Regions from separate parts of the Homo sapiens genome. Here region 2 is linked to region 1. Evidence: promoter capture Hi-C in 16 types of primary human blood cells and fetal thymus (Javierre and others, 2016). All regions are on one chromosome and are shown on one strand. The core of a region is centred on a gene start or on the middle of the fragment in contact, and the rest is flanking DNA. Distances in the headings are between cores, read along the strand shown. Region 1 holds the start of ADAMTSL4 (ADAMTS like 4). Region 2 holds the start of TNFAIP8L2 (TNF alpha induced protein 8 like 2).

What was found. The method cuts DNA at HindIII sites, captures the fragments that hold promoters and counts their contacts. A CHiCAGO score of 5 or more calls a contact.
Region 2: a contact is called between the fragment with the promoter of TNFAIP8L2 here and the fragment with the promoter of ADAMTSL4 in region 1, in 1 of 17 cell types (erythroblasts). The highest score is 5.2, in erythroblasts.

What each region holds. Positions count from the first base shown.
Region 1 is chr1:150,548,075-150,550,774 of GRCh38, forward strand. It overlaps ADAMTSL4 (ADAMTS like 4), which reads left to right and starts at 1,334. Exons shown (of 19, transcript NM_019032.6): 1 at 1,334-1,425; 2 at 1,748-1,821. It overlaps LOC124904417, which reads left to right and starts at 2,216. Exons shown (of 1, transcript XM_047438226.1): 1 at 2,216-2,700. The coding sequence starts at 2,216. ADAMTSL4-AS2 (ADAMTSL4 antisense RNA 2) reads right to left here. Exons shown (of 6, transcript NR_187269.1): 6 at 490-676. RefSeq lists silencers at 519-813, 745-894, 1,065-1,204 and an enhancer at 2,540-2,700. The HindIII fragment of the contact is 42,411 bases long and covers 1-2,700 here.
Region 2 is chr1:151,155,229-151,157,928 of GRCh38, forward strand. It overlaps TNFAIP8L2 (TNF alpha induced protein 8 like 2), which reads left to right and starts at 1,421. Exons shown (of 2, transcript NM_024575.5): 1 at 1,421-1,494. TNFAIP8L2-SCNM1 (TNFAIP8L2-SCNM1 readthrough) reads left to right here and starts at 1,421. Exons shown (of 7, transcript NR_144937.2): 1 at 1,421-1,494. It also overlaps a transcript of LYSMD1 not described here. The HindIII fragment of the contact is 1,285 bases long and covers 147-1,431 here.

The DNA of each region.
Region 1 (2,700 bases), core at 84-2,583:
GATTGCTCTTGTGGTTAAAAAAATTCACAAAAATAACATTACATAGCTGGGTGCGGTGGCTCACGCCTGTAATCCCAGCACTTTGGGAGGCCGAGGCGGACGGATCACGAGGTCAGGAGATCGAGACCATTCTGGCTAACACGATGAAACCCCGTCTCTACTAAAAATACAAAAAATTAGCCGGGCGTGGTGGCAGACGCCTGTAGTCCCAGCTACTCAGGAGGCTAGGGCAGGAGAATGGCGTGAACCTGGGAGGCGGAGCTTGCAGTGAGCCAAGATAGCACCACTGCACTCCAGCCTGGACGACAGAGTGAGACTCCGTCTCAAAAAAAATAAATAAATAATAATATAATAATAATAAACATAACGCAGAGTAAAAAGCAAAAGCCTTTTTCAGTCCTCCCCCAACCCTGCATCCCTCCCCAGATGTCACCAATACTACTGAGTTTGGGGTGCATTCTTCCATGTATAAATGCATAAAGAGACATATCCAAGCCCATCATATATATTAGATTAGTCCCATTTTGCAGATGAGCAAACTGCACCACACAGGGGTGGAAGTATTCGTCGAAGACCACATAGCTGGCAAGAGCTGGAGCTGAGGTTCAAATCCAGATCAGTCTGACTCAGAAGTCAGCACGCTGTCCTTTCGCTGAGTCCCGAGTGTAAAACCTTACTGAGGAAAAAAACCGAAGCTCATAGAAGTCCCAGCAATCTGAACCACCACTGCCCAACACGGGAGAGGCAGGAGTGACTGAGTTTGCAGGGGAGGCTGCGTGGAGGGGAGAGCCTGGACCCACGCGGATCGGGGGCCGCGGGTACCTCCGTCCAGGGCGCTTCCCTCCCGGACCAGCGGCTCTCCCAGGCCGCCTCGCTCCAGGCGCCCCTGGAGGCTGCCCCGCCTGTGCCGCGCCGCGCCGCGCCGTGTTCGCACCGCTCACCCGAGCGGCTCGGAGGCCCGGGTTGCTTAAGTCCCTAGTCTCAGCCGGGCACGAGGACAGCGCCCGGGAGCGACTGCAGCCTCTGACCCCGGCTGGGCCAGCCCGGGCTGCTTAAGTCCCTAGTCTCGGCCGGGCACGAGGACAGCGCCCGGGAGCGACTGCAGCCTCCGACCCCGGCTGGGCCAGCCCGGGCTTCAGCTCACGCAGCCGTCGGGGGGCGCCCGGCGCGCAGCCCGGGGTGGGTGGTCCTGGCGAGTGGGGCTGCGAGGCAGACCGGCCCCACCCCGGGGCCGCCGAGGGGCGCGGGCTGGGGCGCGTGGCGGGCGGGGCTGGGCGGGGGCGGGCGCGAGGGCGGAGTTGCGGCCGAGGCGGCCGTGACCGGAGCGCGGCTCAGGGGCCCCAGTGGCCGCCGCGGAGCGAGGTTGCCTGGAGAGAGCGCCTGGGCGCAGAAGGGTTAACGGGCCACCGGGGGCTCGCAGAGCAGGTAGAGACCTCCCCGGGACCCCGGCCCCGGCCGCCCCTCTCCCGGGTCCCGTTAGACCGCCCGCCCCGCGCGCCCGCGTCGTCCCCTCTCCCTGCGCTGTGCGGTCGCGACCCCGCCACGACCCCGGACCCAGCTCCGGTGGCCTCGGACAATCTTCCAGCCCCTGGGGTCGAATTCCTGGGGAGGGAGTCTGATCCCGTGGAACTCTGGCCCCATCACCCGGGCGGGGAGTGAACCAAAATTCCTCCTAAGTCACATAGTAAAGTTGGAAAACAGACCCATGACCTCCCCGCGCGGCCGGTGCCTCCTGCCCTCTCTCTAGGAGGGTGCTCTCGGACGGTGTGTCCCCCACTGCACTCCTGAACTTGGAGGACAGGGTCGCCGCGAGGGACGCAGGTGGGTGCCCTTGATCCAGCTCAGCCCGATGGCAGAAGAGGTTGACAAAAAAGAAAGACACCTGTTGGGGTGGCCTGCCAGACCCAGGAGTGGAGGGCTCTGAGGGCCCGGGAATTCGGACTCAGGACAGGGATTCTCCATGGCTAGGCCCAGAAACACAGGGTCCAACCACTCTCCAGCAGGGAGACCTGGGGGTGAAGGGGTGAGCCCTGCGCAGGTCTCTGTTCCTTGGTCTTCACTGGGCAGTGTGGAGAGGTGTGGCCAGGAGGAGCCCGCGTTTGTCCAGACCAGGGTCTACTCTGGCACCAGAGTGACCACCTCTGACCTCTCCTTTCCTCGTCCTGGGCCGGGAACGACACCAAATGAGGGACATGGAAAGGGGTGAGAAGCATAAATGTGCGTGTGTTTCTGCAGAGGAGGGGGCATGGGCCCCTGCCGGGCTGCGCAGGGGAGGGTGGGGTGGGACTTTTCCAGAGAGGGAGCCAGGCCTGGCCCGGGCCCCGGGAGCTCACGTCACCCCCACCCCTCACTTCTCCAGGGAACTGCCAAAGCCAAACCCAGCTCGGGATGGGATTATGTGTACTGGGTAGACCCGTGGAGAGGGGCTGCGAGAAGAGATCTCGGTGGCAGAGAGAAGCAGAGGCAGAGAGGGCATGAAGAGGGGTCGGCATCAGAGAAGGGGCAGGCAGTGACTATCACCCCATTTCTTCTTCCCTCAGCTGGAGTAACAAGAGTCAGGCAGAGCCTGAAGACTTGGGTGGAACATGGGCCCTTCTCTGGAGATCCTGGCCTCCCCCGTTCAGTCAGGGTGGAGTTGCTGACCTTAGTGGCCGGCCCAGCCAGGGGAAGGAGTGGCCATCGGCAACCCCCACCCCAACC
Region 2 (2,700 bases), core at 171-2,670, 610 kb after region 1:
TCTCTGGCTATTAAGTAGTTGAATCTATCTTTCCAAGTCTACCTCTTCAGCCCTATCATAATTAAGCTTCTTTACTCTCAAAATTATTTAAATCTCCATTAAAGTTAATGGCATTGTTTGACTAGTATTACTGTTCTTTATGTTTAAGCTTATTTCCCTCGCCAGATTCCCCATAAGATTCTTGATAGCAAGTGTTTTTGTCTCATTCAACAACTGTGACTTCCAGGATGGGTGCAGTGGCTCACGCCTGTAATCCCAACACTTTGGGAGACTAAGGTAGGAGGATTGCTTGAGCTTAGAAGTTCAGCCTGGGCAACATAGTTAGACCCTCCTCTCTACAAAAAAAAGGAAGGCTTGTGAGCCTCTGGTCCCAGCTACTTGGGAGGCTGAAGTAGGAAGAGCTCTTGAGCCCAGGAGGTCAAGGCTGCAGTCAGCTGTGATGATGCCACTGCACTGTGGCCTGGGCGACAGAGTGAGACCCTATCTCAAAAACAAAACAACAAACAAACAAACAAAACCCAATTGTGGCTTCCCCTCATTTTGTATCCCTTTAGCAGCTACAAAGTAGCTACTACAGTAGCCTACTCAGTAGGCCCTGCGGGGTGCGTTGGCTCACACCTGTAATCCCAGCACTCTGGAAGGCCAAGGTGGATCACCTGAGGTCAGGAGTTCAAGACGATCCTGGCCAACATGGTGAAACCGTCTCTACTAAAAATACAAAATAAGCCAGGCATGGTGGCACAGGCCTGTAATTTCAGCTACTTGGGAGGTTGAGGCAGGAGAATCACTTGAACCCGGGAGGCAGAGGTTGCAGTGAGCCGAGATCACCCCATTGCACTCCAGCCTGGGCAACAAGAGCAAAACTCTGTCTCAAAAAAAAAAAAAAAAAAAAAAAAAAAGGCAACTCAGTAGGCTTGTTCCTCTACGCTAGTGATTCAGTGCTGTGCTGGCACCTGCTGGTCACCTGTGGTGCAGCAGCCCTGGTCCCAGCACCTTCCTCCCTTCAGTATTAAGGGTTGTGACAGTCTGTGCTCTTACCTGGCAATCACTGGAATAATATATTAAATACTTGCCCCACAGCACCACCTTTCAATCTTCAGAACTTTTCCCACTGACCTCCTACCCCAGAAATTTGGGCTTTACATCCTTCCCAGTACTGTAGAAATGTAAGGACAGGATCTTCAGGAACTGGGCAGCAAGAAAAGAAAGAAGCAATTTGAGAGTGGAGGATGCAAATCCCTTTCCCCCCTTCAAAGAATTGAGACTATTTCCAACAGAATTCCACTCTTTTTGACCTTTGTCTTATTTCTAGGTTGCTCTTGGGCCATAGGCCTTCTTGGTGACAGAAGTGATGAACCGGAGGTTAAGCAGAGAGTAGGTAGGCGGGGCTCAAGGGGTGGGGCCAAGCCAAAGGGCTCTCACACTAAGTGAAGCTTCTCCATTCTGTAAGCTTTCCGGGAACATCCAAGGCAAGACTGGCACCCAGCACAGCAGGTGAGGGACCGGCAGTGACAGAATGGTAGACTTTAGGGGTAATGGTGGCAGAGGAATCTCTAGCTCTTTCAGTCTTAGCTTTTCATATTGTGAAACTCTCGCTTGTACAATTCTTGGGTCCTTTGTAGAGCTTAGCTTAGTTTTTCTGGTGGCAAGGCAGCCTCTGAAAGACCTGGTTTTGGATGCGGTGGGGGCAGGGCTGAGGGATGCAGGTGGATCCACATCCATATGGATGTGTGCGAAATGCAAGGAAATCTTAGGAAACAAGGAGATAGATGGGTAAGGGCCAGAGGGAGAGTATGGCCAGGCCAGAGGATCATAGGGAGGACCCAGACAAGAGAAAAAGGGAGACTGAAACAGGGAGAGAGGGAGAAGACAGCGGAATAAATGTGAGACGGCAATGGGGGCAATGGAGAGCTGGGTAACAGGAAGGCCAAGGAGGAAGGAAGGCTCACATGGAGCAATCTCCTCTTCCGGCTGGGGAGCATGGTCCAGAAAGCCCCAAGGCAAGCTGGGAGCAAAGCAAGGTTCAGGTTTCCACTGGAAGGATTCAGCTGGGGAAAAAAACCCCCACAGTCTCCACCTCCTCTGCCTCTTCAGACTCCCATTTTGGTTTGGGGGAGAGGGCGAGGCTGCTCCTCACTGCGGTCACAGCCACATCCTGCAGAGCAGAGGAGGGGGAAGTAAGAAGCAAAACAACCAGAAGAACCACAGGCGAAGACCATGGGGAGAGAACCCTGGACACATGGAGCTGATATGCCACCAAGAGGGTCCTGAGTTCAGTGTAGCAGAAGGCTCAGACCTTCAGGACTGCCTGCCCTTCTTGAGGTGTTGGCTTCTCGTGCTTCCTCAGTGTGCTTTAACCACACTGGGAGCATTCCGGGGAAGGAGGTTTCTCTGGATTATTTGGTTTGAAGCCCATCTTTATAATTTACTAGTGACTTTGGCCAAATTGCTATATTTCTCTTCGCTTCAGTTTTCTCATTGCAAAATGGGGATACCTACCCTAACCTTACACAGGATTGGGAAGGCTAAGATGACTGACGTAAAGCACTTGCATATAGTAGGTTCTCAGTAAATGTTAGTTATTACTCCTATTAGGATTCCTGGGATGCTTATGCTTCTTACTTTAAAGGAAGTATAGTGCACTAGCTGCCACTGGCTTTGGGGGCCAAAAAATGAGTTGCGTTTGATCTTGGGTAAATT